Regions from separate parts of the Homo sapiens genome. Here all the other regions are linked to region 1. The links are contacts of gene promoters, found by promoter capture Hi-C in human tissues and cell types (Jung and others, 2019). All regions are on one chromosome and are shown on one strand. The core of a region is centred on a gene start or on the middle of the fragment in contact, and the rest is flanking DNA. Distances in the headings are between cores, read along the strand shown.

The links. Contacts are between HindIII fragments. The study calls those that stand out against the background at their distance.
Region 2: a fragment that was not itself captured here is called in contact with the fragment with the promoter of TFF2 in region 1 in 2 of the 25 tissues and cell types used here (H1 embryonic stem cells and lymphoblastoid cells).
Region 3: a fragment that was not itself captured here is called in contact with the fragment with the promoter of TFF2 in region 1 in 1 of the 25 tissues and cell types used here (lymphoblastoid cells).
Region 4: a fragment that was not itself captured here is called in contact with the fragment with the promoter of TFF2 in region 1 in 5 of the 25 tissues and cell types used here (IMR-90 fibroblasts, adrenal gland, hippocampus and 2 more).
Region 5: a fragment that was not itself captured here is called in contact with the fragment with the promoter of TFF2 in region 1 in 4 of the 25 tissues and cell types used here (IMR-90 fibroblasts, lymphoblastoid cells, mesenchymal stem cells and 1 more).
Region 6: a fragment that was not itself captured here is called in contact with the fragment with the promoter of TFF2 in region 1 in 1 of the 25 tissues and cell types used here (lymphoblastoid cells).

Annotation. Positions count from the first base shown.
Region 1 is chr21:42,348,868-42,353,297 of GRCh38, reverse strand. It overlaps TFF2 (trefoil factor 2), which reads left to right and starts at 2,304. Exons shown (of 4, transcript NM_005423.5): 1 at 2,304-2,419; 2 at 3,268-3,417. The coding sequence starts at 2,341. LOC105372815 (a long non-coding RNA gene) reads right to left here and starts at 1,005. Exons shown (of 3, transcript XR_937755.3): 1 at 1-1,005. The HindIII fragment of the contact is 10,226 bases long and covers 1-4,430 here.
Region 2 is chr21:42,565,462-42,569,891 of GRCh38, reverse strand. It overlaps SLC37A1 (solute carrier family 37 member 1), which reads right to left. Exons shown (of 20, transcript NM_001320537.2): 15 at 4,017-4,065; 16 at 2,834-2,907; 17 at 1,454-1,532. Among named protein-coding and RNA genes, the nearest start is that of LINC01671, 47 kb to the left of the region's middle. RefSeq lists an enhancer at 3,280-4,200. The HindIII fragment of the contact is 4,706 bases long and covers 36-4,430 here.
Region 3 is chr21:42,158,118-42,162,547 of GRCh38, reverse strand. No RefSeq gene overlaps it. Among named protein-coding and RNA genes, the nearest start is that of UMODL1-AS1, 52 kb to the right of the region's middle. The HindIII fragment of the contact is 8,913 bases long and covers 1-4,430 here.
Region 4 is chr21:42,526,209-42,530,638 of GRCh38, reverse strand. The region is part of intron 3 of SLC37A1 (solute carrier family 37 member 1); the gene reads right to left. LOC107987299 (a long non-coding RNA gene) reads left to right here. Exons shown (of 2, transcript XR_007067878.1): 2 at 1,814-4,430. Among named protein-coding and RNA genes, the nearest start is that of SLC37A1, 15 kb to the right of the region's middle. The HindIII fragment of the contact is 7,112 bases long and covers 1-4,430 here.
Region 5 is chr21:42,507,224-42,511,653 of GRCh38, reverse strand. It overlaps a transcript of SLC37A1 not described here. Among named protein-coding and RNA genes, the nearest start is that of SLC37A1, 4.4 kb to the left of the region's middle. The HindIII fragment of the contact is 5,149 bases long and covers 1-4,430 here.
Region 6 is chr21:42,209,461-42,213,890 of GRCh38, reverse strand. LOC105372814 (a long non-coding RNA gene) reads left to right here. Exons shown (of 3, transcript XR_937748.4): 2 at 3,017-3,106; 3 at 3,325-4,430. It also overlaps a transcript of ABCG1 not described here. Among named protein-coding and RNA genes, the nearest start is that of ABCG1, 7.5 kb to the left of the region's middle. The HindIII fragment of the contact is 4,311 bases long and covers 1-4,235 here.

The DNA of each region.
Region 1 (4,430 bases), core at 1,055-3,554:
TTTCAGAGGTGGAGCTCAAGTTCTGAGTGTGGTCATGGGAGGGTGGCAGAAGTGGCAGAAGTGGAGTGGAGATGGAAGTTCCTAGAGATGAGGAAAAATAAAATCTGAGCGACTGTGAATTTTGATGAAACATCGACCGCCATGTTGAAGATGGCTGGGATGTGGCCAAGTCTTAGCATGACAAGGAACACAGTGAACTCAGTGCTGAAATTCTTAACGAAAGGGACAGGCTGCACAAAGGTCGGCAGATGACAGCAGGGCAGGGACTCCGGACATGGCGCCCTTCCCAGCCTGCATCTCCAAGGAGGATGGTTTTTGCATGAGGGTGAAGACTTGGGGCTCAAAGTCAATGTCCAGCCCCCAGTCTGAGCCCATGTGATGGGGACGTGGCCACCAAGTACAGTTGTGGAGGTTGTGAACAGCTCCACTTTCAACTAGCGATGCCACTCTATTGCAGACGTCCCATCTCGTGTAATGGTTTCCCAACTCTGTGGGCACTCAGTGTCCCTGCGTGGGGGCCTGAGCAGGATTCCAGGGAAGCATGCCTATGACAACACAGGCTTCCGCCAGGGCCAGGAGAGTGAGAGAGGCTGAGAAGTGGTCTCTTTTGCATGGGTCAGGTGGTCGCAGCAGGAATCCTGAAGGGGCTGCAGTGAGCGGTGGGAAGTCGAGTTGATGGGGAGGAAGCAGAGAGGAGAGGTGGGTGGGAATATGAGAGAAAACAATGACTCAGTCACTTATATCATGATGGTGACTAAAGTGACAGGGATGTAGAACAAGGAAACTGACCTTGCCAGAGTTTTCATGGATCGAGTCCCTGTGGTTGCCCAGTGGTGAACAGTCAGCAGAGAGCCTGGAGGTACTTGACCCGGACCCAGAGGAGCCCTGGAGGATGGAGCCTGGAGGACGGGGGCCTGGAGAATGAGGGTCTGGAGGACGAGGGTCTGGAGGAACAGGGGCCTGGAGGACGAGGGTCTGGAGGAAGAGGGCCTGGAGGACAGGGGCCTGAAAGATGGGGGCCTGGAGGATGAGGGTCTGGAGGATGAGGGTCTGGAGGAGCAGGGGCCTGGAGGATGAGGGCCTGGAGGACAAGAGCCTGGAGGACAGGGGCCTGAAAGATGGGGGCCTGGAGGATGGGGCCTGGAGGATGGGGGCCTGGAGGACGGGGGCCTGGAGGATGATGGCCTGAAGGATGAAACCTGGAGGATGGAGCCTGGAGGATGGAGCCTGGAGGATGAGGGCCTAGAGGATGGGGGCCTGGAGGACAGGGGCCTAGAGGATGGAGCCCTGGAGAATGGGGGCCTGGAGGATGGAGCCTGGGGGACGAGGGCCTGGAGGATGGGGGCCTGGAGTATGGGGCCTGCTCTCCAGACCCTGAGGACAGCCCCGTGGTGGACCAAGGATTTTGGGTTTCCTGCGTCTCTGGGCCCCTGACTGCTCAACCATCAGAAACAGACTGGCAACCCCCTGTCATTTCCCTGGCGTGGGGAACTTCGGGTCCCCTCTGTCCTTCCCACCACACTTTTCCCTCTTTCTTTCCGGGTGTCTACTCTCTGGCTTCTGTCTTCTCTGTCAGGTCCACAGAATCCTTCTCCAGCACATCCTACCCCAGGAAGGCCATGGGCTGGGTCCCAGGTGCCATCTTTCAGAAGATGTAGAGCATTCCCATGGAACAAAAATAACCCATTTCAGGGGTTGGCTGAAAATGAACTTATTAAAACCTGCCTGTCACAGGCTACTCCGCTGACCCTGTCAGCCTCATCTCCATGGAGAGCAGCCCCTCCTGCTGAAGATGGGACAAAGGGCATCGTGCTGCGGTTGGGGAGGCTCTAACCACAGCCCTGGGAGCAGTCTCTTACCTCCTCTGAGATGCTTCCCTTCCTCAGGGAGGGGACTTTTCCATGCTATCTGCTGGCCTGTACATTTTCCCCAGTAAACTTGGCCCTAATATTTTCTAAATTCCTGTGGTCCCTGCCCACTCTATCAATAGAAATGCATAGCTTATCCCTTCCTGGGTGTGACCCTGTGTGTGCCCAGCCCCAGACCTGCACGTGGCCGGTTTTCCACGCTGGCAGCCTGGCATGACCCAACTCTCTGTCCAGGGCAGGAAGAGGTATCACCGAGCAGGGAGAGAGTCACCCTGGCCCGGAAGCCTCGCCTGCACAGGGCACAGCTGCCTCTTGCCTCCTCTTCGCCTCCACGGTGGAAGGGCTGGGGCCACGGGGCAGAGAAGAAAGGTTATCTCTGCTTGTTGGACAAACAGAGGGGAGATTATAAAACATACCCGGCAGTGGACACCATGCATTCTGCAAGCCACCCTGGGGTGCAGCTGAGCTAGACATGGGACGGCGAGACGCCCAGCTCCTGGCAGCGCTCCTCGTCCTGGGGCTATGTGCCCTGGCGGGGAGTGAGAAACCCTGTAAGTGAAGGAGAGGGTCTTTTTATGTGCTTTCTTTATTTCTCTTAAAGAAAAAAAAAAAGCACAACCATAAATTAACTTGAGAGGGGGAATGGCTATAAAGGCATCTGGCAATGTGTGTTGTTCACATGGGATTTGCCACTGCTCAGGAGGGTGGCTCCAAGAAGGGCCTCCCTCCTAGGGAAAGGCTGAGTGACGGCAGGTGTCAGCGGGCCCCGTGTCGGGCCAGGAGGGCATTCCCACCAAGGGTCCTTGGAGTCCCAGAGCACTCACCTCTCGCCTGGATCTTGGCCTTGGGTCCATCTGTTCACCCTCCTCTAGGAGGGTTTTGTTTTTGTTTTTTTCCGAGACAGGATCTGGCTTTGCCGCCCAGGCAGGAGTGCAGTGGTGTGATCTTGGCTCACTGCAACCTCTGCCTCCCAGGCTCAAGTGATCCTCCCACCTCAGCCGCCTGAGTAGCTGAAACCACAGTTGTGGACCATCATGCCCGGCCAATTTTTTTTTTTGTATTGTTTGTAGAGATGGGGTTTCGACATGTTGCCCAGGATGGTCTTGAACTCCTGAGCTCAAGCAATCTGCCCGCCTCGGCTTCCTAAAGTGCTGGGATTATAGGTATGAGCCACCATGCCTGGCTTTTTTTTTTTTTTCCTTTTAAACTAATATAACAATTTCAGCAAAGCCCTATCGGCTTCTCAGGAGGAAACCGCATTGCTTAAATATGGGCAAGATAAGACTTTGTGTTTCTCTATGTGGCAACAAGACAGTAGAGGCATCCCCTAGAACCTCTGAGAGAAGGAGCAGTGTGGTCTGGGGTACCAGGGTGGGGCCGACTGAGGGTCTTTCCACAGCCCCCTGCCAGTGCTCCAGGCTGAGCCCCCATAACAGGACGAACTGCGGCTTCCCTGGAATCACCAGTGACCAGTGTTTTGACAATGGATGCTGTTTCGACTCCAGTGTCACTGGGGTCCCCTGGTGTTTCCACCCCCTCCCAAAGCAAGGTAATCTTCCAGGGAATCTTCCTGGGCCAGCAGCTGGCAACCCAGGACCCAGCTTCACAGGCGGAGCCCAGAGCAGGGGCCGGAGGAGGCCCAGTTGCTAGTCTAGGGTTAGCCTGGGTGGGTTAGTCTCGAGCTAGCCCCGGTTGGTTAGTCTGGGGCTAGCCCAGGTTGGTTAGTCTAGAGCTAGCCCAGGTTGGTTAGTCTGGGGCTAGCCCAGGTTGGTTAGTCTGGGGCTAGCCCAGGTTGGTTAGTCTAGGGCTAGTGTAGGCTAGTTAGTCTAAGGCTAGCCCAGGTTGGTTAGTTTGGAGCTAGCGCAGGTTGGTTAGTCTGGGGCTAGTAGCCCAGGTTGGTTAGCCTGGAGCTAGCCCAGGTTGGTTAGTCTAGGGCTAGCGTAGGCTGGTTAGTCTGGGGCTAGCCCAGGTTGGTTAGTCTGGAGCTAGCCCAGGTTGGTTAGTCTGGGGCTAGTAGCCCAGGTTGGTTAGTCTGGGGCTAGCCCAGGTTGGTTAGTCTAGGGCTAGTGTAGGCTAGTTAGTCTAGGGCTAGCCCAGGTTAGTTAGTTTGGAGCTAGCACAGGTTGATTAGTCTGGGGCTAGTAGCCTAGGTTGGTTAGTCTGGAGCTAGCCCAAGTTGGTTAGTCTAGGGCTAGCATAGGCTGGTTAGTCTGGGGCTAGTAGCCTAGGTTTGTTAGTCTGGAGCTAGCCCAGGTTGGTTAGTCTAGGGCTAGCGTAGGCTGGTTAGTCTAGGGCTAGCCCAGGTTGGTTAATCGGAGCTAGCCCAGGTTGGTTAGTCTGGAGCTAGCCCAGGTTGGTTAGTCTGAGGCTAGTAGCCCAGGTTGGTTAGTCTGGGGCTAGCCCAGGTTTGTTAGTCTGGAGCTAGCCCAGGTTGTTTAGTCTGGAGCTAGCCCAGGTTGGTTAGTCTGGGACTAGCCTGGACTGCTAGTCTAGAGGTAGCCTAGAGGACTGCTAGTCTAGAGGTAGTCTAGGGCTAGCCCAGGTTGGTTAGTCTGGGGCTAG
Region 2 (4,430 bases), core at 1,139-3,638, 220 kb before region 1:
CCTGTCCGGCCTGGCTCCTCACTGTGCAGTCAGCCGCCTGGGCCCCGGCTGCGATTCTAACTGTCTGGGAGCAGCTCATTCAGTTCACTGGGATACAGCAAAGAATCAGGCAAATCCCGTCCTCCTGGAGCTTCCGTTCCAGTGGCAGGAGACAGAGGAGACAAAACAGAGGAGTGCACCGAATCCCACTGCGGATGGGGAGAGCGCTCCAGAGAACAGACCCGGGAGAGGGGCCTGGAGGCCGAGTCGGAAGGGTTCACGCGTTCTCAGCAGGGTGGTCCCAGGAAGTCTTGCTGAGAGGATGATATCTGGGCAAAGACTCAAGGCACGAGGGAGTGCGGCACGAGGGAGTGCGGCACGAGGGAGTGCGGCACGAGGGAGTGCGGCACGAGGGAGTGCGGCACGAGGTCACCTGTGGGGACCTTCCCAGGCACGGGGTGTGACCAGAGCAAAGAGCCCGCACGGGGGCCAGCCTGGCCTTCGGAGGAGCAGCAGGGAGGCCATGTGGCGGGAGGGCTTTGCATTCTGCATCACTGAGACAGCAGTGGGCACCCAGAAACGTGCTGTGATGTTTCCAGCCTGCTGGCACCAAGGCCAGGGGCAGCCAAGAACAACATCAGCTCCCTGCACGAGCCAGTGGGAAGGCTCCAGCACCAGGTTCTGGCTGACCTGGGTCTACCGAGCCACCTTCATCTACCAAACACTCGGCTTTACTGGAGACCCCCACGCAGCAAGTGACACACAGGTTGGCACCCCAGGTCCTCCTTATTAGCTGTGACAGCCACACCAGGCAGCCCCCCATAACGTCCCCCATGTAGGAAGGACCCTCCTGATCTTCACCTGGCAGGTGTGGCAACTCCTGATTTTCGCCTGGCAGGTGCAGCCACTGTGCGTGCTCCCCATACAAGGGCTCAGGGAAGGCCACAGCCGTGCCGTCAGGCTGCACATGGGCGAGGAGACTGGCACTCTGCCAGCTCCACCTGCCTGCTCCCTAAGGGGATGGCTTGCTTATTCTGCCACCTTTTTAAATTCCAGAATATGCCACTGAATTCTCTTCAAGAGCTTCGACGATGCTGGTAACACTCAGAACCCTGTATGATTTTGGACCAATTGGTTTTTCTGTAATTTAAATAAGATTCTGCCTTTCTTGAGATGAAGGCGATAAATAATGAGTGGACCTGAGTTAGCCCACGGGCTGTAGTTTGCCAACCACTGCCTCGGGTGAAAACCTGGACACGCACAGCTAGTCACACGCCCGTCTCTCTGAAGCCACCCAGGCATGCGTGACCATCTCTGTGTGCCGATGTCCCCTGCTCATCTGCTCGTATAGTAAGAAGCCGGCCCACCCAATGTTATAGATGCAGTTGGAACCCTGGGTACCTGTTCACGAGCATGTGACAATGTGATTTCCCCTAAGACACCAAACCTCCCAGAGCTAAAACTCTCTGCGCACCTACAGAGCCCGTCCCGTCAATGATGGCCGTCACGGTGGAGAGGGCGTGCGCGTTGCCTTTCAGACTTTTATGAGTCCCCTAGAAGAGAGGAAAAACAGACGTGCAGTTATCGCCACAGCATGAGAAGTAAACCTAAGCCTCTGTATGACCATTTACTCAAACTGCTCTGCAAAACAACTCATCGTGAGGGTGTTTCCCATTATTTAAACTCCACCCCAAGCTTGCCTTGGAGAGTTAAAACTTCAAGGGTTTTTAAGAGTCAAAAGTCATCAGAAATGCTTGGTTCTAGTTACAAGAACTCTTAGGATTCTCTTCAAATAAAAAACGTTTGTTCCGCACAGTCCTGCTCCTCCCTGAGGCCCCAGAGCAGCCAGCGTGAGAGGCGTGAAGGTGCGCAACGCGCGCCCCTGCCCTGAGCTGCGCCGGCCTTCCTTCCCAGACACATCCACGTGTCTGCTGGATTCCTCGACAGCCAGGGCCTTCCTGGGACCCCTGTCAGATGTCTCTGCAGGACCTAAAATTCAACCTGATCAATAGCAAACGCCAGGGGAAGAAGGGAGGAGGGGAGAGCTGAGAAACCAAGGCTGGCGCAGGTCCTCGGTGAGCAGCCGCCAGGAGCTCTGGTTTTGAAAATGTTGCATAGACAATGGGAAAAAAGCCAAAATGAGGACAATAGGAGGGGAAAAAGATCAGGGGAAACAGTGCCTAGAAGCCTAAAACTATAAAAATGAACCAGCGTTCAAAAAAATAAATGCTTGTATATGCACGTAATATGTATATAAAATAAAGAACACACAATATGAAAATCATCCAGAACCTACGTATTTTGAAGTCTAAAAAATAAGTGAAAGTCTCTCCTCTGCCTCTACCCCGTGAAGGCTGACCATTGCTAATGGTCTGATGTGGATCCTTCCAGAATTTTCCATGCCCATGTAGACACAAGTCTGCATGCTCACGCACACTCAGGCAGTTTCAGGACACGTCCAATACAAAGGTGACCAAGGCAGGGCATGGTACCTGGATGAGAAGGGCCGAATCCCCCAGCGCCTCTTCGTGGCCCCTCTCTCTCTGCAGAGGCGTCCAGGACAGGACCTCTCCCCTGCCCCCTTGGATTGAAAAGGCGCCTGAGTCATGAGGATGGCGCCCAAGAGCCTTTTGTTGTGCTGAACGGTGAGTTTTGCACCAACCTGCCCATGATTTTAGGAGAAGGGTGAGCAGCGGGGCAGGTGCGGGAAGGCTGGAGACCACAGGTGTAGGTGAGCTGCCAAAAACGTGCTTCTGCAAATGCAGTTTTACTAACAGTAATGGAGGCCACTTTTGTCATGAATGGCACATGGCAGGGTGCCCACAGGGCTGGTGTCTCTCCCGGTTCTACTCACCAGGTCGGCGGAGACGGCGGTGGTGATGAGTGTGTAGGGCCCACTGACCAGGGCTCCGCTGAGCAGCAGCATGGCTGTGGGAGGCAGAGGGGCAAAGAATGGAAATGTGCCCTCCAGAGAGCCCCGCATGCATAGGAGCAGCCTGAGGTGGGCGCCTGGGGAGCACAGGGAGGGGATGCAGCAGAAACAGCTTCCTCTAAACTTGTCTAGTGAGGAGCTAAAGCAAATCATACCCTCCCTAAGACTCAGGCTCATCCACCCTCGAAGGGCAGCAGCTGCCACCATGAGGGAGCGATCACAGGCCGGACCCTGGGCCTGGGCTGACCCCTGCTTCATCTGCAGCAGAAAGGCCTTCCTCTCCTCACCCACAGCTGCTGTGGTGCTCGCTGAGGGCAGACCCCCACCCTCTCTCCGGACCAGGTCATTTCCTAAACTCTCCTCTAGGCTCACACTCAGGTGAGGAAGCTTCTGGCCTGAGGGGGGGTCACAGGAAATTCCGCTTCCTCTCCTGTGGGCAAGCTGCCTTCTGGATAACATTTAAGGGGACCACACATCCCCACTGCTGGCTCATTAGGACAGAAAGCATACTTCTAAGTGCTGGAGGCATAGTTTGATAGCGCTGCCTGCAGGGTGTTCAAAATAGTCCTCCAAGGTTACGCAACCGCTCCTGGAGGGGCAGCTGACAAAGCTGGGAGGAGGTGGCTGGGGGGCCACCTGCCCTGGCTCCTGGCCGGACCCTGTTCAGGTCACACCGCCAGGTTCCTGGCTACCTGACGTGGCCCAAGAGCCAGCCTGAGCTGCTCTCACCACCAGGGGTGCAGGGTGCAGGTGGCAGGTCGCAGGCTGCTGCAGCCCCGCCAGCCCCACCAAGGCCCCAGGAGGGGCTGCCCTCAAGGTCACATCTGGCTTCTCCACTGAGTGCCCAGGGCCACTGCCCCAGACCAGGCTTGCACACTTCCAGCTCACAGTGAAACCCACAGAATGGCAAGCCTCGCACTGGGGAGAGGAGACCCCGGCCTCTCCAGATGGTCTTGCCCAAAGGAGGACACGGACAATTTTAGCCACACCATGTGCTCCAGTTAAACCAGCTCAATGCGCCTGTTGATTTTAGTATTTCATCTTGCCAGCTGTGTGAACTTTAAAAACGTGTGTGGAAGAAAAGCAGGAAGGCCTCCATACTCACCGATGGTGGCCTCAAGCCCCATCTTGCTGACGGTGGAGAAGATGTAGAGCTGTGGACATCAAGACACAAGGTCAAAGCCATGGCTGGCTGCAAGCAGTGCGAGATTGCTGGAAATCTACTTCTCAAAAACCCGGCGGGTGATTCTCAGGCAGCCATCCCAAGAGTGGAAACCCCTAAAAAAGCGTGACGGCCACGCCCCCTCCCGTCTCAGGTACTGAGCCTTGTCCCCACCACGAGGGCTTTGGACCAAGCACCCCAGGCGACCTGGGGAAGTCTGCAGGGTGCTCCCACCTTACACCCCCAGCCAAGGGCAGCCTTCCTGAGCTCCTACCCAGCCAAGGGGCTGCCTTCTTGAGCTCCTGATTTGCGAGTCTGACTGCCAAGTCCTCAGGCTGCCCACCCCCCAGTGGCAGC
Region 3 (4,430 bases), core at 945-3,444, 190 kb after region 1:
CACGTGAGTCTCCCTCTCTCACACACCCCTGCCCAGCCATGTGAGTCACCGCTCACTCACTCCTGCCCAGACATTTGAGTCTCCTCCTCACTTATCCCTGCACAGCAAAGTGAGTCTCTCCCCAGCTCACCCCTGCACAGCCATGCGAGTCTCCCCCTACTCACCACTGCCCAGCCGTGCAAGTCTCCCCCAACTCACCCCTGCACAGCCATGGGAGTCTTCCCCAACTTACCCCTGCACAGCCATGCAAGCCTCCCCCCACTCACTGCTGCCCAGCCATGTGTCTCCCCCCATTCACCCCTGCACAGCCACACAAGTCTCCCCCGACTCACCCCCGCACAGCCACGAGTCTCCCCACACTCGCCCCTGAACAGCCATCTGAATCTGCCCCTCACTCACCCTCACTCCACTCTGTCCTGACAAGTCCGCCTACAGAATCCGTGGCTGTGATGGTCCTCCACCTCACCGGTGGCTCTGAGCCTTCCACTGGGTCCCCCCCTCCCTGCTCCCCTTCTCTGGGCTGCTGGATGCTCTGCTCCCCTCCCCCGCTCTGCCACTTCCTCTGTCTTCTCTCAGGCGTCTCCTGGACTCTTTGTTTCTTTGTCTAAGAAAAATAAAATTGGGGAAAGGCAGCCTTCCTCCAGATATTGTTGGAGTGAGGATATCGTAACTATTTTGAAAACTCAAAGGGGCTGATGAGGGGGATGTGTTTGGCGGTGTTTGTACAAACAGAGAGGCCTGTGGAAGGTGGGGGCTGCGTACAAAGTGTGGCCTGTGTGGCCTCAGGGCGGCATGTGTGCCTGTGTGTGAGGCTCTGTGTGTCTGTATGTGGCTGTGTGTGTCTCTGTGTGTGTGTCTGTATGTCTTCTGTGTGTGTGTTTCTCTGTGCATATGTCTGTATGTGTGTGTTTGTGTGTGTGTGTGTTTCTCTGTGTCTGTGTGTACCTATGTGTGTCTCTGTATATGTGTGTCTCTGTATATGTGTGTCTGTGTGTCAGTGTGTGTATGTGTTTGCGTGTGTCTCTCTGTGTCTCTCTGTGTGTGTCTGTGTGTATTCGTGTGTGTGTGTCTGTGTATATGTTTGGGTATGTCTCTCTCTGTGTTTCGTTTGTTTTTTTTTTTTTTTGAGATGGAGTCTTGCTCTGTTGCCTGGGCTGGAGTGCAGTGGTATGATCTTGGCTCACTGCAACCTCTTTCTCCCAGGTTCAAGCAACTCTCCTGCCTCAGCCTCCTGAGTAGCTGGGATTACAGGCATGCACCACCACACTCAGCTAATTTTGTATTTTTAGTGGAGATGGGGTTTTACCATGTTGGCCAGGCTAGTCTCGAACTCCTGACCTCAAGTGATCTGCCTGCCTCAGCCTCCCAAAGTGCTGAGATTACAGGCCTGAACCACCGTGCCCGGCCTGTGTATATTTCTGTGTGTGTGTGTGTGTGTGTGTGTGTCTGTGTGTGTATCTGTGTCTGTCCGTGTCTTTGTGTGTCTGTGTGTTGTGCATGTGTAACCCGCTGAGGTCAAATACACACACACTTGGTAGCCCATGCCAGTGAGTCATTGTCACCTGAAGCCCAAGGCTCCTGAGCGGAGATGTCTCAATCATGTTTGCAAACTCATTGACAAATCTGTGATGTTTCCAGCCGGGGCTGCCTGAGAACAGTTCTTGCCCCAGCTTACCGCCCACCGCCCTAAATTTCTCTGGACTATAAGGAACTGTGGGTCCTTGTGCCACAGTGACCTTGTTGTCTCCAAAAGGAGACCTGAAAACGGGGGTTGGCAGGAGGGGGGTTGGCAGGAGGGGGGTTGGCAGGGGGCAGAGGCCGGGCTGAGCTGCTGGAGGCCGAGTGGGAAGGGCCCATCTCTCCCCTCCATCTCTGCTCCCGAGCGACCCTCAGGCCAGTAAAGCTTCCTGGAGAACGTCTGGGGGCTAGAGCCACTCAGGCTCCAGGACTCAGAGAGGCATCCAACATGTCCCCAACACGGGTTGCCCCCCTGGCCTGGCACCGGACACGCACTCAACAGCTGTGCTACCTCAGTTACTGCCCCGCGGCTCCAGGGAGGGCATTTCCTTCCGAGGTGAGGATGTGGGGAGGGCCCTCACGCTGGCTCAGCAGCCCCCTACCCAGCCCCTGCCACGGCGCCTGCAGAGTGAGCAAGCACGGGGGTCAGTGCTGCACTCTGCCCCAGCGCGTGTCCACTGATTTCACACTCCAAGTAGAAGAAGAGGCAGAGGAGGCGGGGGCCTCCCAGGATGGGGTGCCACCACCTGGTGGGGGTGGCAGGGACAGGAGAGGAGCCCCCGCCTCACAGCCACCAGGGCTCCGGATGGAGCAGGAGGGCAGAGGGTGCCACAGGCGCCCGGGCTCCGTGGGAACCACAGCCTCCGTCAGAGGAGCTTGCGGCTGGCACTGAGTGTTTTACGATCATGATATGGAGTATTCTGTGGTGGTTTCAGGGCCACGATGGAATGGCTGTGCTGGTGCCAACATTCACCAGGCGTGGAGACTCGTGTCAAATGGGCATAGCCCTGAGAGTGCCCATGTGGACTTGGACACAGGGAAAGGGCCTGCCCCTGCCTGCCTTTGGAGGCCACCAGCCAGCACCTCCATCATCACGATGACCTCACTTGGCATCTCTGGGACCCGTAGGGTGTCCCCTCCAACCCCCCACTGTCATCCCATGATGAGCTGCACCTACGTGAAGTGAAGGAACCCCACATGGCCCCCAGTGCCCCACCATGATGGAAGCCCACACAGACGGCTTCCATGCCTTGCTGACTGCACTGGGGCTCCCAGAGGACTGCCTCCCGATTAACTGCCTCACCTGTTTATCCTCTGAGCACCCCCGGCTGCAGGATCGTGGCTCCCAGGGCCCCCTGGGGGGAACACTAATCTGCCCCCTCTGAGTCCTGGGTTCCACATCCCTCGTGCATCTGCAGAAAGAAACTCCTCTGTCAAGGATGTCAGGTGCCTGCTGTATTGAAGCCAAAACGGTCCAAAGGGCCCTCCAGTCATAGGAGCTGAGACGTGGCATTCCCCAATGTTCCCCACCCATGTGCCCAAGCGTCTTCATGTGCCAGGACCCAGGGCCCCTTCAGAACCATGTATCCATCAGAGCTTTCCCTTCCTTTGTCTGTTTCCTTCTGTGTCTGGGAAGAGACCTAGCTCTGTATTCAGTCAAGAACAATCCCAGCTCCTTAAGTGAATATTCTGTTTGTTCTATTGAGTGAATGTTTATTGAGCATCTACTACGTAGGAAATGTGCTAGATTCTGGGGCACAAACGGAGAGTTTTATGGCCCCACCAACGAGGCAGCCAGGGGCCAGTCCTAAACACAGAGAAGCAAGCACGATTCCCACAGGGTGCAATGGGGGAAAACCCAGGACCCCCAGAACACAGAAGGGCACTGACCCAACCCAGAAGCCAGGACAGCCTCCTGGAGAGAACAGCTTCCTGGAGAGAATAACTGCTGGGCCGTGCCTGGGGGACCAGTAGGATGGGCCAGGCAAGGGGAGAGGATGGTTGGGATGGGTCATCCCATGCTGGGCAGAGGGCATCGGTGCAGCAGGAGAGCTCTGGAAAGTGCTCGTGGCTCAGAGGACGAGAGCACAAAGTGTGGGGCCGGGAAGGTGAGGCTGGCGGGGTGGGGGTTGCAGGGGGTAGGCAGTGGTGTGCTGGCAAATGTTTAACAACAGGCTCTCTGCAGAAAAGACGTGTGTGTAAACATCTGTACGTCAGTCCACTCTAAGTTTTATTCATGCAAAGGAAGCACGCAATTTACAAATAATAAATATACAGGACTTTTTATCATAAATTCCATAGAGCCAACTGGTCCACACAGATGCTTTTGTTGATTTTGGCCAAACTCTCATATTTGTAGCCAGCCTATAGCTGCAATTCAACTACGATTTGACAACGTTTTATGCTATTTACAGTGTAACAGTTATGACCATAGCACACTTGTAGATTAATCTGCGTTCATCGAAGATTTTCATCATTTCCTTGAGTCTAGATAATCAATAAGACGATAAAATCAAGCCTCGATTTGTAGCACATGCTGATTTCCGTGACGTAAATGCTCTTGCGATGGTTGGTTCAAGCTGTGGACACGACGAAGCTCAATGCAGAGACCGGTGTGCCCTAGCAAACCTCCTGTTACACAGGATTTCTGCCATACAGATGCAACAGAGGTAATAACTGCCACAGCATGATGATCGTAAAATTATATCATAATAATACCATAAAATGTACAATTAATAAATTGTATTAAAACAAAGGTAACAAATGCTCAAAACTCAAGTTACCTTTGTTTTAGTGCAATTTATTAATTGTACATTTCAGCCGTTCCCCACTGGGCTCTCAGAAGCCGGCGTGAGCTGACTCCAGCACCTGTCCCTGCCAGCAGGGACGACTCCAGGAGGACTGCCAGGCCA
Region 4 (4,430 bases), core at 873-3,372, 180 kb before region 1:
TGTGTGTGTGTGTGTGTGTGTGTGTGTGTGTGTGTGTGTGTGTATCATCTGCATTTGACGATCTGTCTAGTCAACTTTACGTGGCTCATTAGGCTGTGTGGGTGCACTGATTCTAACCAGTCCTTCACATTCCTTTTATAAGGCTACAAGAATTCTCCAAAGCATTATCTAAGTCCTGGAAGAGCAATTACAGTTTTGGTACCAAAAGTAGGAGCGACCAGCCAGGCTCTCCCCCACAGACAACAGCACCTGCCCACGGCCAGCCTCCTGCGATGAGTCACAGGTGCCACGTGAAATGCATTATACACACTCAGGGACAGACACGCAAATGCTCCACTCATGAAGGATACAGAAATAGATGGAGGAGCTTCTTGGTCATTGTTTACTTCTCAAAAATGGAATCATTCTATACATCCTTATGCACATGTTAACTTCTTACTCAAAGTACCTCCTGGAAATGTTTCTGAGTCAACTGGTTTGCCTGTGATGAATTCTTTTAGGGACCTGCACATTTCATAATACGGACTTGTGATAATTTATTCAAACTTTTACCTACTTATTAGGTTCCCTTGATATCCAGCATTGTTTTTTTTTCCTTTTTGCTTTTTTTGGTCACTACAAAGCTGCCATAAAGATGCTTATGAAGATATTCCTAAGTAAGGTGCTTTTATTTTTAGGGTGAAATTCCCAGAAGTATGTCTGAAGGCTGTAGTGTTTTTTATTTCACTGGGTGTCACCAAAAGGCGCTAACGCTTGACATCCCATCAAGAACGCATGAAAACTCCTCTCCCCTCACGACCAGTGAATAGCGCTTACTGCCCTGGGCAATGCTGTGCCAGCCACTGAGCACAGTGTTGCCTTAATTTGCATATGGAATACCGGCAGACTCGAACACCATTCACATATTTCCTGGCGATCTGAATTCCGTGTCTGTAAACTGCTTGTTCATCCCCCTTGCCCGTTGTTTCTTTGGGTTTCCTAACTTCACACTCACTCCTACGATAAACATAATTTTCTTCTTGGATTTGTACTTTTTGTATTTTACATTCATGTCTTTAATCCATTTATTTTATTTTACTTTTTTGAGATGGAGTCTCACTCATGTCACCCAGGCTGGAGTGCGGTGGTGTGGTCTCGGCTCACTGCAACATTCGCCTCCCAGGTTCAAGCGATTCTCATGCGTCAGTCTCCCAAGTAGCTGGGATTACAGGTGCCCGCCACCATGCCCAGCTCACTTTTGTACATTTAGTAGAGATGGTCAGGCTGGTCTCGAACTGCTGACCTCAGGTAATCCACCTGCCTCGGCCTCCCAAAGTGCTGGGATTACAGGTGTGAGCCACAGTGCCCGGGCCATTTGTTTTTATAAAATAGGGATTCAACATTTATTTCTTCCTGACGAATAACCAGTTGTGCCGACACCATTTATTAAATTTATTAAATAAGCTCTGTCAAATATTCCATATTTTCTAATCTATTCTACTGACTTTTTTGTCTATTCTCATGTAATATCATAATTTGATTATGGTATTAAAATATGTTAATCTTTTGCATATTTTCATATCATAAAATGTTATCTTTACACTTTTCTTGATAATTCCTGGACATTCTTTCATACAAACTTTAAGATTATTTTATTCAATTAAAAAAAACCCTGCTAAGATTTTCACTGGAGTTGCATTTTATTTAAATATTAACACTGGGAGAATTGGAACTTTCCAAATAACAAGTTTCCCACCCATAGTACATACTTCCAGCTTTTCAGACTTTGTTTTCTGTCTGCCACTGAGGATTATTTTATTTCATTTTTTTTTAGATGGAGTTTCACTTTGTCGCCCAGGCTGGAGGGCAATGGTGCGCTCTCGGCTCACTGCAAACTTCGCCTCCCGGATTCAAGCTATTCTCCTGCCTCAGCCTCCCCAGTAGCTGGGATTACAGGCGCCTGTCACCATGCCTGGTTAATTTTTTTTGTATTTTTAGTATAGATAGGGTTTCACTATGTTGGCCAGTTTGGTCTTGAACTCCTGACCTCAGGTGATCCGCCCACCTCGGCCTCCCAAAGTGCTGGGATTACAGGCGTGAGCCACTGCGCCTAGCCAGTTTTCTCCTTTTAAGTCCTGTGTGTCCAGAGAGGGGTGGGCACACTCACATTCAAATCAATGCTGCCATCCCCCTGGCTCCAGGGACCCCTGCAGTTTAAGCTTCTCCGGGAAGCCTCTGCTTTCAGGTTTCTTTTCTGGCCCAGTCCAGGTGAAAAGAGCTCGCACTAAGATCTCTGCTGGGAGTCAGACTCACCTGTCTACCAGCTTGGGCAGACGCTTGCCTTGAGTCCTGAGGCTAGGCCACAGCTGGAGCAGCAGATAGAAGGGACAGGGTTGCACTTATAACACCACTATCCTCCCAGCCCTGGTTTTATCATCATCATCGAGAAAAATACAATTAATCAGCAGTGATCAAAGGTAAGTCTAAACATTCCATTTAACTAACTTAAATGTGACCTGGTGTGCCGTGTCATTCTATAAATGACATAACAGAATAAGACTCACTTTCTAATTCACAGCCTCTGGTTCAATTTCAAGTAAGCAAATACATTTTGCTTTGGTTTTGCTTACAATATTCTGGGAAATGCAGGCTATAAATAATCACTCAACTGTTTTGTGGGTCAACAGAATCACTACTACTTTCAGTTTCGTTGATGCCATTTATATCATGAGCTCAAGCACACGGGCGCTTCAGAAGGCACTATAAAGTTTAGTTTTGATGTGGTGTGATGTTCTGATCTATCTTGAAAGGTAAAGAAACCCACAGGATTCAGCGTCAAGCCAATCCATGCCCAGGCACATCGCAGCTGCTAGGTCAGGAAATCTGTGCGTTTAGGAGGCTCTGAGGGTGATGCTGGGACTGTACTCAGGTAATTAAACCCGGACAAACCCTGAGGCACAGAGAGGATGAGTAGGGGCCCTGGAGGCAGCCTGACCCACAGGGAATTCTCGAGTGTGTGGCAGCCCTGCCTGGGGAACGAAGACCCGAGCCTCAATTTCCTCACAGGGGCACTCGCAGGGTTGCTGTGAGGATCACAGGGGTAATGTATGTGGCAGTTTGTCATACCCCAGGGCTCTGTAAGCGGCAGTTATTTATATTGTTACTTATGACACTGAACTAAGAGCTGACCCTGACGCCGCCTCCTCAGAAGCCCTAAGTCTTGAGTGGCCTGGACACCACTACACACGAGAGTCAGGGGCGGGGGCTTTGAGATGGACCACCAGGAAAGCCGGGAGAGGGACCGGGACAGGGCTCCCACTTGCTCCTGGCTCACAGGGGCCCTCATAGTCATCAGGTGGACCCCAACAGCTGTGGCCTGACAAAGATTCCCCCAAAGGCCAGCCCACCTTACACGCTACATCTGCCCCAACAGCCCCCCAGCCCAACAGGTGGTGCCTTCATGGAGATGCCCATCCCTGCACGTAGCACTCAAGGCAGTTCTCCCACCTGTAAAGCTGTTTTTCTTCCCCTACAATCCACACCCAACCTTTCTAGGTCAATCCTGAAACCCCACACAAGCTCCCCAACTACACCAGATCCTTCAACTCCAACACGCTCACCAAGTCTCTTCAATAGTCACTTCCATCTTTATAATTTACCATTTTCTTGAGCTGTTTGTATATTTCTCTAACCAGAAAGACAAGAAGTAGTAGTATTCAGATTTATAATGACTGGTTACTGGTACTGATTTGAGAGTTTCTTGTCAAGCGGATGAGTGTTTAAGGCCCACCACCTCTTTTCATATTCTTCTCTCTTAAAAACCACATTTTCAAAGGTCTGCAAACGTTTTCCACAGTCAACAACTTGAGAGGCATGGAAGTTTCTTGCTTATCAGGGGCCAAGGGGGAATTTTAGAATCTTTTGGGTAAATGAATGTTTAACATCCCCTGAAAGCTGCTGGAGAGTGGGGAACCTAGGACCGTCACAAAACAGCCAGCCTCTGCATTGCCTCTGCCGACCAGGGCTGCAGAGGGCAGCCACCCAGGGCTCAGCCACCGGCAGGAGTGGAGGAAGCACAGCTCCAAAGGTCACAGAATTGCAGTCCTGGAGCTGGGTCCCTGCCAACTCCCGGAGAGTGAGCGAGGGGCCACTGGGCTGTGAATGCACTGTCTCTGGCAGTGGATGATTTCCTCGTTCTTCTACGATAGAGACTCTAATGCCTCTCAGGCCCCTGATGGTCTACAGGCCGGGTGACGTAATCCCAATGAGGGTAAGAAAATTATTCCTGCTTTTCTCCAGGTTATAACTGGTGATTATGTAGGCTTGTCTGCTTTAATCTTCTTTTCTCAAAGTCTAGTAGAACACCTGCTTAACAACTTCCTGCCCACCCATCACTCAGACAAAAATGCAGCGTTCCAAGAACAATGGAGAGCCACCTCCGCAGCCAGACC
Region 5 (4,430 bases), core at 858-3,357, 160 kb before region 1:
GCCACCATGCCCAGCTAATTTTTTAAATTTTGTAGACACAGGGTCTTGATATGTTGCCAAAGCTGGTCTTGAACTCCCAGGTTCAAGCAGTCTTCCTGCCTTAGCCTCCCAAAGTGCTGGGATTAGAGAAGTGAGCTACCATGCCTGGCCTATATTTGTTTTTCTGTACCTGGCTTATTTCACCTAGTGTAATGTACTCCGGGTTCATCCATGTTGTTGCAAATGACAGGAAATCCTTCTTTTTTAAGGCTAAATAGTATTCCATTGTGTAGATACAGCTATACACCACATTTTCTTTATAAACTTCCCTCTAGTACTGCTTTTGCTGCATCCCATACGTTTTGGTATGTTGTTTCCATTTTAATTTGTCTTAAGGAATTTTCTGATTTCCCTTTTGATATCTTCTTTGACCCCACTGGTTGTTCAGGTGTGTATTTAATTTCTGCATATTTGTGAATTTTCCAATTTTCCTCCTGTTACTGATTTCTAGTTCATGTTATTGTGGTCAGAAAAGATACTTGATATGATTTTAATCTTCTTAAATTTGTTAAAACTTGTTTTGTGGCCTAACATATGATCTATCCTAGAGAATGTTCTGTGTACATTTAAATGTGCATTCAGCTGCTGGGGGAAGGAGTGTTCTGTATGTCTGTTAGGTCCATTTGCTCTAGAATGTTATTCAGGTTCACTGTTTCCTTATTCATCTTCTGTCTGGATCATCTATTCATTGTTGAAAATGGGGTACTGAAGTACCCTGCTATTACTGTATTGCTATTTCTCTCTTGAGTTCCGTTAATATATATTTAGGTACTCTGATGTTGGGTGCATATACATTTATAATTGTTATATCCTCTTGATGAATTTATCTCTTTATCATGATATAGTGACTTTGTCTCTTATGAAGTTTTTGACTTAAAGTCTGTTTTGTCTGATATAAGTATCTTTTTTGCTCTCTATTTGGTAACCATTTGCATGGAATATCTTTTCCCATGCCTTTACTTTCAGCCTATGTGTATCCTTAAAGCTGAGTCTCCTGCAGGCAGCACCTAGATTTTTTTTTTTTAATATCCATTCAGCCACTTCTATCTTTTGATTGCAGAATTTAATCCATTTACATTAATTATTGATAAGGACTTACTACTGCCATTTAAAAAATTGCTTTCTGGCGGTTTGTAGTTCCTTTGTTGCTTTGTTACTCCCTTACTATCTTCCTTTCTAATGTGATGATTTTTGTAATGGTATGCTTTGATTCCTTTCTCTTTACATTTTGTATATCTGCTGCAGGTTTTTGTTTTGTGGTCACTATGATGCTTATATAATACATTTTAGGCCAGGCGCTATGGCTCTCGCCTGTAATCCCAGCACTTTGGGAGGCTGAGACGGGCAGATCATGCAGTCAGGAGATCGAGACTATCCTGGCCAACATGGTGAAACCCCATCTCTACTAAAATACAAAAAATTAGCTGGGCGTGGTAGTGTGTGCCTGTAGTCCCAGCTACTCAGGAGGCTGAGGCAGGGGAATTGCTTGAACCCAGGAGGCAGAGGTTGCAGTGAGCTGAGATCGCATCACTGCACTCCAGTAATAAAACATTAGCTGCCTACAGAAATCCTACACTTTAATTTTTCCCCACCTCAACTTGTATGCCATCAACTTAAGGAGCAGACATTCTCCCAGAGAAGGCCAAGGCAAAGCCAGTGACAGGCCTTGACTGACAGGGAACTGAGGTTTCCCTGAAGGGGGCTTTGAAGATACTGGGCTTCAGAGCTCAAGAAAATACCTCATGCTTAGAAAGCATTAGAGCATTAAACACTATTAGAGAGAAAGAAAAGGGAAAATCAGAACCTGATTACTTAACATGGAGAAAAGAAACTCATTTTATCTCCACTGATCAAAAAGCAAGAATTCTAATGGTATGGTGCACTGACTGGCGAGGAAGGGTGATTTATATTCAGTTACTAGTGTTGTTGATAAGAAATACAATGAAAAGCCTCTGATTATTAAGCATGCTCTGTATTCCAGGCATTGTGCTCGGCCTACGGATATAAAACTGACAAGAGTCCACACACTGAAGAACTATAACCCAATCCAGCAAACATAATTAGGTGTGAAGGAGTAGGCGTTCCCAGTCCTACAGGAGCCCAGTGAGGAGACTGGCCACGGCCCCCTCCCCATGCCACACTTCCAGTTGCAGTACTTTTGACTCGCTTCCCAGTCGATTCACGTATGAAAGCTCTGTTTCCTCCAAAGAATTCTCCTCCTTGATCGTGAAGAACGGGCAGCGGCCATGAACAACAATGACTGAGTCACCGTGGGTGGGACAGACCTGTCTGTCCTACAGCATCAGGGGAAGTGGCAAGGGATGTAAGAGAACTAGATGTTGTCTCTAAAACCAGAGGTCCATAGAAAAGCTTTAAAATTGGACATAAAAATCATAGTTTACTCATATTATTTAGAAATATAGGGAACTACCAGAAGAAATGGGTAAAAGAGTAGAAAATGGTAGGGGAATGAGACAGAGGAGTTGAAGGGATAAAGCCAGGCCCGACTGTTTGTTGTTATATACCTTTAGTATCATTTGATTTTAAAACTATTGGCATGATATTTAAAGAAATATCAACATAAAGACAGAAGGCTGTGCTTAATTTAGGTAATGGCATTTTAGTGGTAGAATTTTAGACACTGTGATACTTGAATTAGAGACATATTGGAGGAGAGGAGCTTTCAAGTGTCCTGAAATAATAAGGGGACAAACACCCATTTATAAGGGTGGTTCTCTTTAAACTACCTGTATAAAATAGGCAAATTTTCTTGCTTCTAAGACCCCTTGGCAGTGTTTCCCAGCAGAGTAACTTTCTTGCTTTTCTTCTATATGTGTAGCAAGGGAAATAGTAACTGAGAGAGTGCTCACGGGTATTTGGGGAGTAAACTGGATTCTAACTGAAGTAGGACTTGATAAAGGCTTGAATCAGATTCAGGGACTCACATTTCTTTCAGTGAAGCATTCCTCTGTAGCTGAGCTCCACTCTGGGGCTAACTTGTTGCCTGAGCCCATCTGTTGTAAATTCCTCTTGAGTTTATGCCTATAGGTAGAATGAGGTCAGGTATGTGGAAATAGGAAACTGACCCATCAACTAAGGAGTCATTCTTGCAGTTGAGCTAGTGCAAATACATGAGATAAGCAAGTTGGAAAATTTTTATGGGGTCTGCAAAAAGACATACTCTTAGGCCAGGCACGGTGGCTCATGCCTGTAATCCCAGCACTCTGGGAGGCTGAGGCAGGTGGATCACCTGAGGTCAGGAATTCGAGACCAGCTTGGCCAACATGGTGAAACCCTGTCTCTACTAAAAATACAAAAATTAGCCAGGCATGGTGGCGGGCACCTGTAATCATAGCTACGGGGGAGGCTGCGGCAGAAGAATTGCTTGAACCCGGGAGGCAGAGTTTGCAGTGAGCTGAGATTGCGCCATTGCACTCCAGCCTGGGCAACAGAGCGAGACTCCGCCTCAAAAAAAAAAAAAAAAAAAAAAAAGAGCGTACTCTTCAGTCCAGTTATAGTTTGGTAAACTGTGTGGCTTAAATCAAGGGGCTGTTCTTTAAAGTTCCCTCTGGGCCAGCATTTGATGATTTATGGACATGGTACTTTTCTTCTAAACAAACACTGTCTGATGGGAGAATGAAATTACTCATATCCTCTTTATCAAACTGATATTGTTTGGGTATTTGTCCCCTCCAAATCTCATGTTGAAACTTGACCCCCACTGTTGGAGGTGGGACCTAGTGGGAGGTGTCTGGGTCATCGGGGGAGATCTCTCAGGAATGGTTTGGTGCTATCCTCTCAGTAGTAAGTGAGTTCTCACTGTATCAGTCCCTGTGAGCACTGATTAGAAGGAGCCTGGCACCTCCCTCCATGCTCTCTCTCTTCCTTCCCCTCTCACTATGTGAGGCCTGCTCCACTTCACCTTTCATCAGGAATGGAAGCTTCCTGAGGCCTTCGTAAGAAGTACGTGCTGGTGCCATGCTTCTTGTTCAGCATGCAGAACCATGAACTAAATAAACCTCTTTTCTTTATAAATTACCCAGCCTCGAGGATTCCTTTATAGCAACCCAAAAGGACTAAGACACACACTTTAGTACTCTTTCCCGGGTTGCCTATCTATTCCCACCAGACATGGAGTCTGGGAAAGGATGGCTTTGGATGGTGAGGCTTTCTGCTCCATCAGCTTAATCTACCCTACTTACCACAGGCTGACAGTTTAGGCAGCCAGTCCCCCTCACAGCCTACACTGAAGACCTCAGCACTCACTGTGGCCATCAGAAGGCGCATGCCCTGGGTTCCTCTAGGCAGCTGCTCCTTTCCAGTTAATTTATAGTTTTAACTCTTATGGTTAAGACCATTAGTATTTAACTCTTGTATCTTAAATCTTTTCT
Region 6 (4,430 bases), core at 831-3,330, 140 kb after region 1:
GCGGTGAACTTGTGAAGTCACACAAGTTATGTGCTTCCAAAATGCAAGGATGGGGCAGGCACAGGGCAGACACTTCCATCCAAAAAGAGAAAAACAGAAAAGAAGAAAGCGATAACAGGTCTCAAGTAAGTCCAAAACCCAACAGGGCAAAAAGCATTATATCTTCTTTGACTCCATGGTCCCACCTTCTGAACACTCTAAGGAGGGACTTAGGCCCCCAGGGCTCTGGGTGGCACCTCCTACATGGGTTTGCTGGGCACAGCCCATACTGCAGCTCTCATGGGCTGGAGTCTCCTGCCTGTGGCTCTCTCAGGCTGGAGGTGCACGTCAGTGGCTCTGCTAGTCTGAGGTCTTCAGGTGGCCCTGCCCCCACACCTCCACTGGGCATTGTCCTGGTGGGGGCTCTCTGCAGTGGCTCTGCCCCTGTGGCAGTTCTCTGCCTGGACCCCAAGGCTCTCCAAAGCATCCTCTGAAATCCAGATGGAGTTAGCCATGCCTCCATAGCTCCTACCCTCTACACACCCATGGAGATGGCCCTGCACAGAAGCCCAAGGTTTATTGATTGTGCCCTCTGAGGGAGACACACTGCAGCAGGTGCCGAGGTCCTGCAGGCACTCCAGGCACCTCTGTGGGCATAGTTCTGTCCCCCAGACCTCGGCACCCTGGGCCTGTGATGGGAGGGCAGCAATAATAACCTCTGAAACACCTTCAGGGTTATGCCGTCACTGTCTTCATGCACAGCACCTGGCTTCTGCCTGTCCATGCTAATCTCTGCCTGAAACGCTAGTTTGGCTACACCCTTGATCTTCTAAACATGCTTTTTTATTCTTTACAGTATGGTCAGGCTGAGAATATTCTGCAAGTTCTGCCTCCTTTTTGACTATAAATTCTGTCTTTAGGCCAGGTGCGGTGGCTCATGCCTGTAATCCCAGCACTTTGGGAGGCCAAGGCGGGCGGATCACGAGGTCAGGAGATCGAGACCATCCTGGCTAACATGGTGAAACCCCATCTCTACTAAAAATACAAAAAATTAGCCGGGCATGGTAGCGGGCACCTGTAGCCCCAGCTACTCGGGAGGCTGAGGCAGGAGAATGGTGTGAACCCGGGAAGCGGAGCTTGCAGTGAGCCGAGATTGTGCCACTGGCAACACAGCAAGAGTCCGTCTCAAAAAAAAAAAAAAAAAAATCTGTTTTTAATTGATTTCTTCCCTTCTCACATTTTACCATAAGCAGTGGAGAGAAGGTAAGCAGTGTCCTCAAGACATGGTTTAGAGTGTTTCTTCCACCAAATATTCAAGTTCATCCCTTGCCACTCTGACTTTCACAGAACATGAGGACACAAACAGTTCAGCCAAGTCCTCTGCCCTCTGTCACAAGAATGGCCTTTCCTCCCGTTTCCAGTAACACGTTCCTCATTTCTGTCTGACACCTCAACAGAGTGGCCTTTACCATCCATACTTCTATCAGCATTCTGATCACAGCCACTTACATAATCTCGGAGGCTCTGTGTCTTCTTCTCAGCCCTCACTAGGATCACCCTTTATGTCCACTCTTGGCAGTCCAGGCCTTTTGAGCCTGTTCCTCTAAACTCTTCCAGCCTCTGCCCATTATCCAGTTCCAGAGCCTCTTCCACATCTGCAGGTCTTTGTCTCTGCAACACTCTGCTTCTTGGTACCAATTTCTGTCTCAGTCCATTTGGACTCCTATAACAAAATACCTTAGACTGCGTAACTTAAAAACAACAGAAATGTATTGTTCACACTTCTAGAGGCTGGGAAGTCCAAATTCAAGACGCCAGAAAATGCAGTGTCTGGAGGCCTGTTCCTCATAGGTGTGCCTTCTGTGCCCTCCCGTGGTAGAAAGGAAAGGGGCTCCTTTCAACCTGTTTCAAACCATTTAATAAGTTCGTCAATCCCATTCCTCATGGCCTAATCACTTCCCAAGGACCGCATCTCTTTTTTTGTTATTGTTTTGTTTTGTTTTGTTTTTTGATTTTTGTTTTTAAGACAGAGTCTTGCTCTGTCACCCAGGCTGGAGTGCAGTGGCACAATCTCGGCCCACTGCAGCCTCTGCCCCCCAGATTCCAGCGATTCTCCTGCCTCAGCCTCCTAGGTAGCTGGAATTACCAGCGCATGCCACCGTGCCCAGCTAATTTTTTTTTTTTTTGTATTTTTAGTAGAGACAGGATTTCGCCATGTTGGCCAGGCTGGTCTTGAATTCCTGACCTCAGGTGATCCACCTGCCTCGGCCTCCCAAAGTGCTGGGATTACAGGCATGAGCCACCAGGCCAGGCCCAGGATCGCATCTCTTAATGCTGTCACTATGGGTATTAGGTTCTAACATATGAATTTGGGGAGGATACCAACATTTGGATCATAGCAGGGAGAAAGTAAGGAAGGAAAGAAGAGAGGTAGAGACAGAGAGAGGAAGGAAGGAGGAAGGGAAAGGTGAGTGGAGAAAGGAAGAAGAACAGGAGCAGAGGAAAACCATGCCTTAGCCCTTCAAGCAGAAGCCTGGGAAAGTGGGTCAGACACAGAGACCATGTCATCAGGGAGGGCAGCAGCATAAGGCTGGTTGGATACACCAAATAGCAACTCTGTGTGTTGGTTCATTTGAAAGAAATGGGAATGCTGAGGCCAGGTGCAGTGGCTCACACCTGTAATGCCAGCACTTTGGGAGCCCGAGGCGGGCGGATCAGGAGGTCAAGAGATTGAGACCATCCTGGCCAACGCGGTGAAACCCTGTCTCTACTAAAAATACAAAAATTAGCTAGATGTGGTAGCACATGCCTGTAGTCCCAGCTACTCCAGAGGCTGAGGCAGGAGAATGGCATGAACCTGGGAGGAGGAGGTTGCAGTGAGCTGAGATCACGCCACTGCACTCCAGCCTGGGCAACAGAGGGAGACTTGGTCTCAAAAAAAAAAAAAAAAAAGAAGAAAGAAATGAGAATGCTTAATCTCCACTGTTTGTTTCCTATTTTGCTGGCACTCTTGACTTCAATGGTATTCTGTCTCCAGCATCCAGATACGCTCCTTCGCTTCCTCTGGTGAGCCAGCCCAGCTATAGAGAGGACCCCTTCTTCACCAAGCACACACAGCCTGTGGGAGGTCAGTGCAAAGGAGGGGCCATGAGATGAGGGAAATCAAGGAGGCAGGGAGGTGCAGGGTGGAGGGAGGGGGGCGGCAGATGCCTGGAAGCTATGGTGGCAAGACAGATGATGAGAGATGGTTTCAGGGGAAAAACTGCAAGTAGATATTTCATAGATTAAGTTAAGACAAGACAAGTTAAGTATTACAGACAAATTCCTTTTGTTTTCTTCCATTAGCATGGAATCAAGAGTGGCTGGGAAAGATCTAGGAAACCATTTCTTCAAATGAAGAAAGAGTAAATAACATCTGGCCCCAAGATGACCTTCAAAGTTGAAGATTAAGACAGAAGTCTCAGAGACAGATACCGGAAAATTACTGGAGGCCTCCTTCCCACAAATAATTAAAAGCTTCCCATCACACCCATAACAAATACCTGCTAGGAAGTAACTGGAACCACTGTGTACCCCACGTTTCCTCCAAGGAACCTCCCACCCCTGACTCCGTGTGGTCAACCATAGAACTCAACCCCCACCTGGAGCCTCCCAGAACATTCCATCCCTCTGGCCACTACTGATGTTCTGGAAAAGATACACAACCCAGCAGGGCCATCAGAGTTCTCGCAGGGACTTCCTGGACCCTAAGAGGGAGAGGGTTTCTTTCCCTGTTCCCTTTTGGCATTGATGTAAGGAGAGTGTTTGTCTGGCTAGGAATTAAGTAAACACCCCCAGGGAAGTAGAGCCGGAGACGAAGGAAGTGACAAAGCCCTTTCATCAGCCCTTTCATCGCTGGAGCCCCTACATCCTGCCCTCCCGAGTTCACACCCATTGTCCATCATTGGCCCTTCCCAAGTGGCTGGGCAACCATTTTTAACTTTTGATAAGTGCTGGGCCCCAGAGCCAGATGGCGGCTCTTTAAACAAACTCGTTCTTCTCTGTGCCCCTGTGACCTCAGCTATTAAGCGGGCTGATGATCCATCCTGTTCACCTCAGAAGACTGTTTCAAGGATGAGAGGTGTCAGCATTTGAAAGCCATGGCCGGCACATAGTGTGCATCTTATAAATGCTGGTGCTCACTATTATTATTCTTTGTTACGGGATCCTCTACTCTCCCTTCTGACCTTGAACTAGTATGAATTAGATTTCAGTCACTTGCAGCTAAGAAGTCTTGATTACGATCATCAGTTTGACAAGGAAGTTAAAAGTCAGAGGCCCAAAGCCACTCTATGAGAAAATCCTTACAAGTAGTTTCTAGATTGACCCTCTAACCCTTAGCTTTTTCTTCACCCAGTATATGCATTATCTCTCCAAAGAGATGATAAATTCCAGCATCTCACTAATATTGC